Regions from separate parts of the Homo sapiens genome. Here regions 2, 3 and 4 are each linked to region 1. Evidence: promoter capture Hi-C in 16 types of primary human blood cells and fetal thymus (Javierre and others, 2016). All regions are on one chromosome and are shown on one strand. Each heading gives the region's core, a stretch centred on a gene start or on the middle of the fragment in contact. The rest is flanking DNA. Distances are from core to core; before and after follow the strand shown. Region 1 holds the start of SMIM19 (small integral membrane protein 19). Region 2 has its middle 5.6 kb from the start of AP3M2. Region 3 overlaps AP3M2 (adaptor related protein complex 3 subunit mu 2). Region 4 overlaps RNF170 (ring finger protein 170).

Region 1 (3,296 bases), core at 428-2,927:
CTCCCCGGCATGCCACAGTGTAACCAAGTGTACACACATACACCTGCTGCGTGCTTACTGCATACCACCACAGCCTTCCTCTGGAATCTAAAGCAAGACACCATTTTTCACATTTTCCTGTAATGTAATGCTTGAACTATTTCAGTAAGGAGAGGCTAGGATGGGCTGAATTAAGTCTCAAGTAAACAAGAGTATATAAACTTGCCAATATATTACAACTAGGGGTTGGTTTTAGATTGACAAACTTTTAGGATGAGAACTACTTTTTTTTTTTTTTTTACAAAAACAGGGTCTCACTCTGTCACCCAGGCTGGAGGGCAGTGGTGCGATCTCGGCTCACTGCAGCCTCGACGTCCCAGAATCGAGGGATTCTCCTGCCTCAGCCTCCCAAGTAGTTGGGAATACAGGCAAGTGCCACCATGCCTGGGTAATTCTTATTTTTTTTTTTTTAAAGACGGGGGTGGGGTGGGGGTCGTCTCACTATACTGCCCAGGCTGGTCTCAAAACTCCTGAGCTCAGGCAATCCGCCCGCCTCAGCCTCCCAAAGTGCTGGGATTACAGGCGTGAGCCACCGTGCCCAGCCGAGAACTACTTTTTCTAGGGACTAGGTCACTGTATCATAAGCTTTAAAATCTGTGTCGTGATTTTGGGTTCCTGATGTCACGTCTAGGTGATTCTAAAATTGACCACCGCTTGTCATCGTGCCTTGAATGTTATCATTTTTGTCTCTCACTTAGAACTTTGTTACTTTGATACAAATTCACATTGGAACCACTTAGTTCCTAGAGTCCCTTACAACAAAATCCTCTGCATCAAAAAATGGGATTTCTTTCTCTCATCCCTCTGAAACACTAAAGGCTTGGTATTCTGAAGCCAAAGGGTACATACAAGCTCACAGGCCTTCACCCAACATCCAGGAAAGCAATTCACAGGTGCTGGGCAGTCCACAGAGTCACTGAATTATCCCAACAACCCTGCTGGGCGGCACTAAAGCTCCATTTTACAGGAGAAGAAACTGGGGTGGCGGCGGTGGTTATATAACTTGTCCAAAGCCACACAGGCCTGGGCGTGGAGGCGCGGGGCTGTTATACACACGACTCCCAAACCTGAACTCTTCCAGTCTTGGCCCCGATCCTGCGAGACCTGCTCCTTCCGGAAGAAAGTCAAGTGGAGCAGGGAGAAAATGTAATCCTCTCCCAGGAAGCAGCCCGGGTCCCAGGGCGGCGAGGCTCTAGGGACGTTTCCGCCGCCCGCAGGCTGCGCGTGATTCAGCCTCAACCCTCCCGCCGAGCCCCCGCCGCCCCGGCAGATGGGCCGCCGCAACTGGCCCGTGTGCGCTTCCGGAAGCGGGCGACTCGCAGCTCCACGCGACGCCGAGGGGCTCCGCGCCGGGACCGGGCGGGTGCTCGGAGTTTCGGGGACCGCACGGGACCGAGGGCAGGCGGGCGGCCACCCCCCTTACCCCCGCGTCCGGGGCGGGGCGGGCGGCGCGGGGCGGGGCCGGGTGACGCGGCCCCGCCGGGGACCGGGAGAAGCGGGGACGCGGGGCCACTCACGCTGCCGGCTCCGGAGGCGGCACGCGGCCAGCGCTGCTCCGCTCCGGGGCTCTTTACCCCGGAGTCGGGGCCGGGCGCGCGGGAAACGGTTACCGAGCGGACCTGGACGCCCTCTGCCTTCGTCATTTCCTGCCGGCCGGTCGGTTTCCGGATGAAACGAGGAGCCAGGTCTTTTTTTTTTTTTTTTCCTTTCCCCTTTTCAGTTTTTTGAGCCGGAGAGACGCAGCGGCGGCCCCAGTGCCGCCCCCGGGCGCGTGAGTGGAGCCGGGCTCCTTTCCCCTACCGCGCCGCGACCCCCGCCCGGGCTGCGCGCGCCGCCTCCCGCGAGCCCCCGGCCCGACTCCCGGGCTCCCGCGGGTGGGGGCCAGGGCTGGTCGGCGCCGGCGGGGCTCGCGGCGGCGGCGGGTTGCGTCCCCCGCGCCTGCTGGCCCACGTGGACCTGGCCGTCGCTTGCCGTGCGGCGCCTTTGCGAAAACTCGACGGAAGTGGCAGGGACCGGGCATTACCTGCGAGTGCCGGGCGCCTCCTGCTCCGCTGTGCGCGCTTGGGGTGGGACTCGGCGGGGGAGGGGTCGTGTACATTGTCCCACCAGGCGCAATGTAGCCGGGCGGCGCAGAGGATTTCTTTTTTGGTCTTGAGAGCATAGAGTCCCTTTTCATATTCACGTGTACTCTTAAGAAAGCGTCTGTTCTCCAAACTGGCTTTCCATTCTCCCCGTCCTAAATGGTGCGTGGCTGACACCGTAGTGTTTTCAAAACTGGATATGGCCAGGATGCTATAGCATTGTCAGTGTAAGTCCCTTTTGGGTATTTTTATTTAATTGTGTAGTGACTTGACAGAAGTGTTTCCCAGCTTGACCTAAGTAATGAATTTGCATAGGATTTCAGCATCAGTATGGAAGTGATCAGATGTCAGTGGCTGGTGCCACCTTGCAGATAAATGGCCACTGGTCCACGTAGTTCGTCTTTACTATACATTTTGATTAAGTTCTCTAGGACCAGCTGACTGGTAATTATAAGTCACATGAAACCCTGCAGAGATGAGAGCTTACATTGAACACTTCTTAACAAGTTTTCTATTCTTTGTTTCATCTGTTACAATTAAACTCACCTTCGTCTAGGGTAAGACCATTACTTTACGCAATAACATACTAGCTTAATTTACGGTATTTATATGTATTTATATATATTGTATATACATAATCATACATATAATTCTATAACATTTAGTTTGACTCTAAAGTTGGAAAATCAGGAAAATAACAGGTGATGTTGAGTACTGATTGTTTGCCGGGCCTGTGCCAAATGGTGTGCATGCTTTATGTAACTTAATCTAAAAAAATTTGAATACGTGAGTTTGATTTCAGTGTGTCCAAATGTGAAACGTGTACATTATTGTTATTGTTTTGTTTTTTTTGAGACGGGGTTTTGCTCTCGTTCAGGCTGGAGTGCAATGGCACTGTCTTGGCTCACTGCAACCTCCGCCTCCCGGGTTCAAGCGATTCTCCTTCCTTAGCCTCCCAGGTAGCTGGGATTACAGGCGCCCGCCACCACGCCCAGCTAAGTTTTGTATTTTTAGTAGAGACGGAGTTTCACCATGTTGGCTAGGCTGGTCTCGAACTCCAGACCTCAGGTGTTCCGCCCGCCTCGGCCTCCCAAAGTGCTGGGATTACAGGCGTGAGCCACCGCGCCGGGCAAACGTGTGCATTAAATGCTTGTTTATGCCTTTGTAAAATAAGAG
Region 2 (3,296 bases), core at 382-2,881, 390 kb after region 1:
AAATTTAAGAGTTCACATAAGAGAGGAGGATCTGAAATCATTTAATCCCCCCAACTACTCTAAAATGAATTACCGTTGTGATCCCCTTTTCGTAGATGAGGAAGCTGCAAAGACAGCTTAAATAACTGCCCAAGGTCGAACAGCAAAGCTGTGATTCAAGGACGTTGGAAGATCTGAGCAGAATGGCTCAGATTCCACACTTCCTACCTCTAAGCCCAGGAACCCATTGAAGAAATGTGAAGCAGGAGAGTGGCACACTTTCAGATTTCCATTTCAGAAAGACTATGTGTGCAGGATGGACTGTAACAGGCTGAGCCTGGAGGCTGGGAGGTTATTTAGACAATTGCAGTAATCCCTAGGAGAGAGCTAGTGCCTGGAGCCATGAGGCAGGGATTAGAGAGAAGTGGACACCTTCCAGAGAAGATAGGGATTAGGGATTAATGGAATGTCAGTGGTGAGGCAGAGTAGGTTTCTGATTCGGGCAATGACATGGATGGAAGCATCATGTGTTGAGATGGGGATCACTGGAAGAGAGGCCCCTTGCGGGGAGGGCGCATGAATCCAGTATATAGCAATGCCTGGGGGCATGAACCAAGTTGACACTCAAGTGTTTGTTGAATTGAATCAAGTAACATAGAATCTGAGAGCTCATGTAATACTTTCCCATGACTTTAAGAGAGGCCACAGGAAATCATTGACAAATGATAAGTCAGTCTATTTTGTGCATAAAAATCTCTAGGGAAAGATTTCCTAAAGCTGCCACTCACAAACCATTCTAATGTTTAACAGCTCTCACTGCTGAGAAATTTTTCTACCATAAAAAGTTAATCCTAGCTATCAGGATTCACTGGGAACCATTTATTTATTTATTTATTTATATTTCATTTTTGGTCTGAGACAAGAGAGGCCTTGCCCACCCAGAAAGACATTTTTTTCAGAGCTGCAACATCATTTCTGCGTCTTTGCCACTTCCTCCCTGTTCACACGTATGCTCTCCTTGCAACACACCTCACTACCGGTCATGCACTGAAGCAATGGAATGCCTTCTCCTCATGCCTCCCTTCTCACGGAGCCCTCTACCTGGCACATGTTTGTCTTTTACTCATCCTATTTTGGAAATTCGCTCCAGCCCGCAAGGCCCAGCCATATGTTTCCTCCTCCACAAAGTCTGTTTGAAGCTTCTTGCCCCCACACTGGGAGTAATGTTTCCCTCCTCTGTGATCAAAGAGCATTTCCCAGCTCTTTCATGTAACCTACAGAGCGGGCACACTCTGCCATGCATCAACATGTGCATCTGCTGACCAAATCTGGATTCTAAGCTCTTTGGGAAACCACAGTGTGTCTCACAATGTCTAGTGAACAATCACCTATTAAACTAACAGTGATGGAGTGCTTACAACCTCCTGGACACTGCGGGTACAAAGATGCGGTACTCTATGTTACTTCAAGGAACATACAGTCAAGTGGAGGGGGGATTTAAAGTGTAGACTGCTCCCCTTATCAAAACCAGGCCGGGCGCCGTGGCTCACACCTGTAATCCCAGCACTTTGGGAGGCCAAGGCGGGTGGATCACCTGAAGTCAAGAGTTCGAGACCAGCCTGGCCAACATGGTGAAACCTTGTCTCTACTAAAAATAGAAAAAAAAAAAATTAGCCCAGTGTGGTGGCATGCACCTATAGTCCCAGCTACTCGGGGAGGCTGAGGCAGGAGAATCACTTGAACCCAGGAGGCAGAAGTTGCAGTGAGCCAAGATCACGCCACTGCACTCCAGCCTGGGCCACAGAGGGAGACTCCATCTCAAAAAAAAAAAAAAAAAAAAACCAGCTCCTTTAAGCCTGGCCATGAAAGGAGCCTGTCCATGTGGAGAGGAGAGACTGAACCTGACGCCCTACTCTAGAAAAAGAGATCCGCTTTCCCCTTAGGGACCTCTCACTGCTGGCTGCAGCTCCCACCACCATACTGGTTTTGGGAGGGTCAGTATCCCTTTAACTCTTCAATGGCATTTAAGACACACTATTTTTTGTTGTTTGTTTAATTTCCTATAGCAGAGCAGAGACCAGGATGGACATTTATCCAAAGCTTGTCTAAAGACTTGAAGATAGGCCGAGCACAGTGGCTCACGCCTGTAATCCCAACATTTTGGGAGACAGAGGTGGGCGGATCACTTGAGGTCAGGAGTTCGAGACCAGCCTGGCCAACCCATTTCTACTAAAAATACAAAAATTAGCTGGGCATGGTGGCGGCCACCTGTAATCCCAGCTACTCGGGAGGCCGAGGCATGAGAATGGCTTGAACCTGGAAGGCAGAGTTTGCAGTGAGCCAAGATCGTGCCATTGCACTCCAGCCTGGGTGATAGAACGAGACTCAGTCTCAAAAAAAAAAAAAAAAAAGACTTGAAGATAACAGAAAGGAAGTGAGCAGAAAGAGTAACATGCAACTAAAAATGTAGCTCACAAATGTGATCCAATCCGGGCATCTTAGATGTCTCTATGGGATGCACACCTGCTTCCAGGGGACAGGGATGCTGTGTACCTCCTCTCACCTAGGAGCCCCGGCAAGCCATCTGGAGTTCCTGAAATCCAAACCTTGTCTGACAAGGAGACAGCAGCCTCCCTCTCCTGGTGGCCTCAGGCTGGCCTCCTGGTTCCAGTCTCCTGAGGGACATAATTATTGCACCAAATGGTCCCTTCCCCAGATGATTAGCCACAAGAATATCCAATCATGAGGCCACACCCTCACCTCAGGGGCATGGCATTATTCTGTGGCTTGTTAGTAGACGCTCCGCGGTTCTTTCTCTGCACTCTCCCTAGATGGCTTCATGAGTGTAATACCCTTTTAATGATGACAGCTCTCGATGTATCTCCAACCTCAACTGTTTTCCCCAGCTTAGTAAACAATACCACCATCCATCCAGCTACTCAAACCCATGAGTCATCCTCAAGTCCTCCATTACCCTCATCCCCTCATGTAATCAGAAGCATACCCTGTGGATTCTATCTTCAATGTACATCAGGAATTCAGAATCTCTCCAATGCAATGTCATCACTTTAGTCCAGGCCACAATCACCACTTCCCTGAAAGATGATAACCGCTGCCATACTGGTCTCCCATTTCTACTCTCACCCCTCCAATCCATTTTCTATACAGCAGCAAAAGTGAGCTTTTAAAACTGTAAACAGTTATGTGCAGCTTGGAACCCATCAATGCATTCCCATGGCATTAAATCAAAAATGCCTTTACTACTTCTTTTTTTTCCCCGCTTAGAGTCAGGGTCTCACTGTGTTGCCCAGGCTGGA
Region 3 (3,296 bases), core at 309-2,808, 370 kb after region 1:
AACCACTTATGCAGAGCAGATGGATTCTCCAGTCTTGGGACAGATACTGACAGCAAAAAAAGGCTCCAACAGACAAGCTACCTATGAGAAGACCTGTCCCTGAAGTGGAAAGGGTACAAAGTAATGTGCAGACTAAAATGAGGATAAGGAAAAAATTAGACCACTGCATGATTTTTCTCAAATTATTGGACTGAAAAAATGAATAACAAAACAAATGAATAATGAAGTAAATTATAAATAAAGGAATTAACAATGAAAGTAATTAATAAATGAATGCTTCCTAAGTATTCTCACTAGACTAAGCCAAGAATATTTTATATGGTATAGAGCTTTATAGTTTATTGTTTTAAGATTGAAGAGCTTATACATCAAATGAATTCCAATCACTTAAATTGTATAAGGCCCGTTTGTACAGAAAAACAGAAACTTCATATAAAGCTAAAGTCATCTCCTTTCCACATCACAGAGTTTCTAAGGATTAAAAAAGAAAACACATGAAAAGAGCTTAAAACAGTGCCTGGAACATGGTAAATGCCCCCAAAGTGGTAACTGATGACTACCGTGCTAAGGTCGGCACAGACTATAGTGAACTGACCTGGAAAGGCCCAGTGGTTCCAAAATAGAAATAAGAGCAAACATGAAAGTCTTCTGAAAACAGAAGAAAGGAGTGGAAATTACACTTCAGTTATAGCTGAGAATGCACATGGATTCTCATACTGAAAACCTTGGGAACCTGAAATGAACAACCCTAAGATGATCCAAAAATGGCTAGTGAATACTTCCTTCTACCAATACTGTTTCTTTCTCAGTGTGTCTTAGGCACTTTTATTCAGGTCACTTATGCCAACTTCAAAGGAAGGATTGTAAATTTTCCCCAGAAACATGCCAGAAAAGATGTTACTAAAGATTGTTTATCAGGTAATGAAACTAAACCTTGTAAACAGGAAGCCCAGAAAGGCTTCCTGGTGCCTGCGCCATATGGCAGAAAGCCGTTTTTGTTCCCTTTGGAGCCTCTTGAGCTCTGGGTCACTTACCAGAAATGGCCAGCTGCTGGATCTTAAACTGCAGGTTAATTGTGGGGTTTTCATCTGGTTTGGAAGCTCCAGCCTGAAGACTCATGGTCCCCTTCAAACTTGGTAGCTTTTGTGGATTTATTTTTCCTACATCCCAAGACAGCATCTTCAAAGAAAATAAAAATGGAGAAGTGGTCTTTCCAAAAAATAGTTACAGCAGAATCCTGCATTTGAGGTGGCTGAGATCTAAACTCAGGGCACCTGTCCACAACATTATAAGCTGCCTCTGGGTATCTTTCCATTGAGAATCCTACGTGTTACTGTTAAGTTACCTGGCAGGAGAAAACAAGGTCCCTTTGACTCATCTCACCTTCCAAACAAGGTCTAGAGTCTACACAGAGAACCTGCAGACTGGTTTCTGCTTAACATCAGCAATTCAAGATGTCCTGCTCATCCCTACCTTTGTGACTGGGTCGAATGTGTGTGTCCCCTGTGATGGAGTAAGGCTCATGTTCAGGACCCCCTTGGGCATCTGGCTGGTGACAGTCACTCCCTCAATGGTCTTCCCCATCGTCTGCTTGGGTCCCACCGTTATTTCAAAGCGTCCAAGGGAACTACTGTCCCGGAAACTGATGTTATGTTTGACATACACTGGGATTGCAACCAGACTGGAAATGAGAGACAAAGAGTCATTTCATTCGTGCACTGGGAAAATGGTAGTTCTTCCTTTCACATGATGCTTTTTCTGCCCTGTGGGTAGCTTCTTCTCCCTTAACTATGTCCTTACTTTTTATCTGAAAAAATAAACAGAAAAAAACCCCAGTAATCTAATTTTTTCTTTTTGAAAAGCTACTGTCTAGTAACTAAATTAACTTTTCTAATGACTCTGAATAATACAAACAAAATCAAAAAGTACACTACTATGACAAAGGCATAATGTACAAAAATGTATTGTCATTATGTCTCCATGTTTTTAACTTGTAACATGTGACCAGTCATCATTTGCACTGGGGAGTATAATATTCATAGCTCATGGACCTTTTATAATTTCTTTCTTTTTTTTTTGAGATAGGGTCTGGCTCGGTCAGCCTGGTTGGAGTGCAGTGGCACGATCATAGCTCACTGCAGCCTCGACATACCAGGCTCAAGTGATCCTCCCACCACTGCCTCCTGAGTAGCTGGGACCACAGGCACACAACATCACACCCCGCTAATTTTTACTTTTTTTTTTTTTTTTTTTGTAGAGACAAGGTTTGGCCATGTTGCCCATGCTGGTCTCGAACTCCTGGGCTCAAGTGATCCTCTTGTCTCTATAATTTTTTTAGAATGCTTTCATCTGACATCATCTGGTCCTTACAAAAACCCCATAAGGTAGGGTAGGCTGTCATGATTTGACAGAAGAAAAGGATTCAGAGAAGTCACGGAATAACCCTGAAGTAATAACAGTTCCTAACATGTATTGAGTACTTCCTGTTTGCCAGTCACTATGCTAAATGGTTTCTATCCATTTAACTCCTACCGTGTTTAATCCTCCCAATAAGTATGAAGTAGATACTGCTACTGTAACTATGTAGTAGGTACTGATTTTATAGATGAATACTGATGTCCTTATACTTAACTGAGATTAAGTAACTTGCCCAAGGTTCTAAGTACTGAAGATGGGGTTTAAGTCCAGGGAGTCTGATTCCAGAGGCTTTGACCTCAAGCACTCAGATATTTTCCCAAATGATTCATTCCACATCACACGGGAAGGGACTGGTGGCTCTGAGGCCTCCTGACTCTCTTCTGTCTGCATACCTTATACTATACAAAACTGCTTCCAAAAGCCTTTAGATTCCAAATTAAAGAGAATGTTCAAGACCAAAAATCACTGCGTTTTATGCTTTTTCATAGCATAACTTAATGCTTCTTTTAGACCAGGGACATTGAACACAGTATGCCCAGATTCTGATTTGAGAAAATAATGTTCTTGTTTAGACACATAACAACAAAAATAACAGCAAACTTAATGAGCACTTCTTTGTGTTAAGCACTATTCAGATTCTCTTATTCAATCTTCAGAACAAGGCACTTTTATTATTTTCAATTTACAGATGAGAAAAGAGATACATAGGGGTTAAGCAACTCACCTGAGGTTACCCAATTAGTAACCACAGAAGCTGGAATGTGAACCCAGGTAACTCTAGAGCCTGAGTTCTTAATCACCACAGATACGGTTTCCACATACATGTACATACACGGATTCCATTCTTAATTATAAGAGCTGCTTACTTCTGTGCACTG
Region 4 (3,296 bases), core at 581-3,080, 310 kb before region 1:
AGCTGTTGCTTGTCATAGAGAAAAACAATAATGCTTAAACATAGCACATTATAATTAAAGCAGGTTTCTCACATACTTTTCATTTTATCCTTTGGATAATTTTGTGAGGAACGCAGGACACCAACTTCCCTTTCATAGATACAATCCCCATGCTATTGATGAAAGTGTTTTTGAATGAAGTCATACAACAAATAACTGATCAAAGTGGCATTACACCAAAATTTCTTAGTAGGACTCCTGCATAGAATGTTTAGATAGACGTGAAAGTTGTTAAGAGGAACAGCAAGAGAGAAACTGGTTCTTTGGAAGTCTTTCGTGCTACATTATACCTCCATCAGAGTAAGACAGCTTAGGCACTCCTAAGAGGAAAGGTCTGTGGAGATGACATGAATCCGAATTCTACACTTCCAAATCAAATAGGTAAAAGGGTGGCATACATCACAGAAAAACATTTCAGCTGCAGTCACCAACTTGAAAAGCGAGTGAGTAGGAGTTTGTCACACTGCCATGTACCAGACTGGAAATGCATTTCCTACCAATTACACATTTGGTGTGGGGGAATGGTGATGTCATTTTTTGACAGGATTTTATTTTGTGTGCATGCATTCTGCTCCAAGTGTCACAATTCTGGTTACAATAATTATAATATTTGGAGTTACTACTAAGACTTTCCTGAAAGAGGTGTATTGTACCAAATTTTGTAACATAAAAAAATACTAAATGATCTTAAAGCTTCCTAAATTGTGAAAAGGGTATGTGCTAACATCTCAGAACTTTAGACCTGCTTGTTGTCATCTTTACCGATCTCTGATGATAAATGCAGAAGGGATCTGAGAGTTTTTAAAGCAAGTAGAGTCAATCAGAGTTTTGAACATCATAGTAATACTTCCGTGATTCAGAGTTAGATCATATAAATCAAAGTAACAATTTGGATTTTTTTTAAACAACAATATCATAACTGTCATAAAACAGATGGTCCAACCCCAGGAGCAGATAATAACTTGGGCAGCTCTGTGGGGAACAAGACGGGGAAAACAACTGTTCTAACTGCCCACTAGAACAGTGGTTTCAACTACTACAATTCTCAGTGTTTGAGAGGTACAAGGGAAGAAAGGACTATGTGGATCCCTTGTGGCTATGCAGATACCTACCTCACAGAGTTGTTGTAGAAGACTGGTGGTTTGGTTCAAACCTTGTGATTAAAGAGTTTGTCAAGCATTTTATTCTTTTGAATAAAAGCAACATATCTAAAACATTTTAAAGGTGTTATTTTTCTGTTTATTTAACAGTTGTTTGCTTTCAGAACTCCTGAAAGAGCATTCAGTATAATGGTTGCAACGGCTTTATCACTAATGGACATCCAATATCTCATCACATTTCTAATTAATTTTGTTAGGTTTTTTATTTTGTTTGTGTGTTTGTTTTTTGGTCAGAGACAGGGTCTCACTCTTGCCCAGGTTGGAGTGCAGTGTTACAATCATAGCTGACTGCAGCCTCGAATTCCTGGGCTCCAGTGATCCTCCTGTCTCAGCCTCCCAAGTAGCTGGGACTATAGATGTGTGCCATCACACCTGGCTAATTAAAAAAAAAAAAAAAAAAGTTTGTAGATACATGGTCTGGCTGTGTTGCCCAGGCTGGTCTAAAACTCCCAGGCTCAGCCTTCCAAAGTGCTGGGATTACAGGTGTGAACCACCATGCCCAGTGCTGAAAATTATTTTTCTATTAAGCAAATAAATTAATTTGCAGACCACAGTGAAAATTTAGTCACGGAGATGTTTTACAAAGAAAAATTCAACATTCAGTTCAATGCAACAAATTTTGTTTTAAATTATATGAAATTCTGCTGGACGCAGTGGCTCACACCTGTAATCCCAGCATTTTGGGAGGCCAAGGCGGGCAGATCACAAGGTCAGGAGTTTGAGACCAGCCTGGCCAACATAGTGAAACCCCGTCTCTACTAAAATACAAAAATTAGCCAGGTGTGGTGGCACGCACCTGTAGTCCCAGCTACTTGGGAGGCTGAGACAGGAGAATCGCTTGAACCTGGAAGGCAGAGGTTGCAGTGAGCTGAGATCATGCCATTGCACTCCAGCCTGGGTGACAGAGTGAGACTCCATCTCAAAAATTAAAAAAAAATAAATGAATAAATAAATTATATGTAATTCACCATACCAATGATAAGTTTACCACTTTGAAATAAGGAAATATAAGGATTATATTCAACAGGTAATAAAAGTATATATTTCATTTCCAAGTTATGGATCACTGGAAGACAGGAAACAAGAAAAGGGAACAAGGAAGAGAACTTGGCTGAGGGACACCACATTGACCAGTTTCATTCTAGATGGATTAATGATCATAGACACCAAGAGGGCACCCTGCTGGCAGGTGATCCTTGGGTGCTGCTTGAGTGGCTTGTGCCCCCAGCTTCTCTGAACTGTCTTAAACGTTCATTCTCTTCTGATATTCCTGCACCTCCCAGGTGACAACCTAGTTTTCCTAAACCACTTCTCCCCTGCCAAGGCCTTTACTTTGCTGGCAGAAATAGCTCCCTTCTTTTTATTAAAGGCCGTTTGACTCTCAGTAAAAGGAACCACCATCCATCCATTTAAATGCTCAAGCGAGGACAGTGTGGTGGCTCACACCTATCATCCCAGCACTTTGGGAGTCCGAGGCAGGAGGATCACTTGAGTCCAGGAGTTTGAGACCAGTCTGAGCAACATAGTGAGACCCCCGTCTCTACAAATAAAATTAGCCAGACGTGGTGGTGCATGCCTGTGGTCCTAGCTACTCCAGAGCTGAAGTGGGAGGATCACTTGGGCCCAGAAGTGAAGGCTGTGGTGAGCCTTGTGGGTTGCACCACTGCAGTCCAGCCTGAGTGACAGGAGATCCCATCTCAAAATGCTCAAGCCAGAGGTGCAAGCTTAATTCGGTGTTAATATCTGAATCCTTCTCTTGTTCTTTCTTTTTCTTTCTTTTTTTTTTTTTTTTGAGACGGAGTCTCACTCTGTCACCCAGGCTGGAGTGCAATGGCACAATCTCGGCTCACTGCAACCTCCGCTTCCTGGGCTCAAGCGATTCTCCTGCCTCAGTCTCCCGAGTAGCTGGGACTACAGATGCCCACCACCACACCCAACTAATTTTTCTATTTTTAGTAGAGACAGGGTTTCTACTAAACCCTGGCCAGGCTGGTCTGGAACTCCTGATCTCAGGTAATCCGCCAGTCCCGGCCTCCCAAATTGCTGAGATTACAGGTGTGAGCCACTGCACCCAGCCTCCTCTCTTACTCTTATAAC

Evidence for each region. The method cuts DNA at HindIII sites, captures the fragments that hold promoters and counts their contacts. A CHiCAGO score of 5 or more calls a contact.
Region 2: a contact is called between a fragment that was not itself captured here and the fragment with the promoter of SMIM19 in region 1, in 1 of 17 cell types (fetal thymus). The highest score is 6.7, in fetal thymus.
Region 3: a fragment that was not itself captured here is called in contact with the fragment with the promoter of SMIM19 in region 1 in 2 of 17 cell types (fetal thymus and naive B cells); the score reaches 6.0 in fetal thymus.
Region 4: a fragment that was not itself captured here is called in contact with the fragment with the promoter of SMIM19 in region 1 in 1 of 17 cell types (fetal thymus); the score reaches 5.3 in fetal thymus.

Annotation. Positions count from the first base shown.
Region 1 is chr8:42,539,966-42,543,261 of GRCh38, reverse strand. It overlaps SMIM19 (small integral membrane protein 19), which reads right to left and starts at 1,677. Exons shown (of 4, transcript NM_001135674.2): 1 at 889-1,677. It also overlaps a transcript of SLC20A2 not described here. RefSeq lists an enhancer at 1-96 and silencers at 1,257-1,676, 1,817-2,096. The HindIII fragment of the contact is 8,293 bases long and covers 627-3,296 here.
Region 2 is chr8:42,145,814-42,149,109 of GRCh38, reverse strand. No RefSeq gene overlaps it. Among named protein-coding and RNA genes, the nearest start is that of AP3M2, 5.6 kb to the left of the region's middle. The HindIII fragment of the contact is 901 bases long and covers 1,181-2,081 here.
Region 3 is chr8:42,165,549-42,168,844 of GRCh38, reverse strand. AP3M2 (adaptor related protein complex 3 subunit mu 2) reads right to left here. Exons shown (of 9, transcript NM_006803.4): 6 at 3,285-3,296; 7 at 1,474-1,681; 8 at 1,035-1,179. Among named protein-coding and RNA genes, the nearest start is that of AP3M2, 14 kb to the right of the region's middle. The HindIII fragment of the contact is 4,036 bases long and covers 1-3,296 here.
Region 4 is chr8:42,851,260-42,854,555 of GRCh38, reverse strand. It overlaps RNF170 (ring finger protein 170), which reads left to right. Exons shown (of 7, transcript NM_030954.4): 7 at 1-1,255. Among named protein-coding and RNA genes, the nearest start is that of THAP1, 9.6 kb to the right of the region's middle. The HindIII fragment of the contact is 2,191 bases long and covers 735-2,925 here.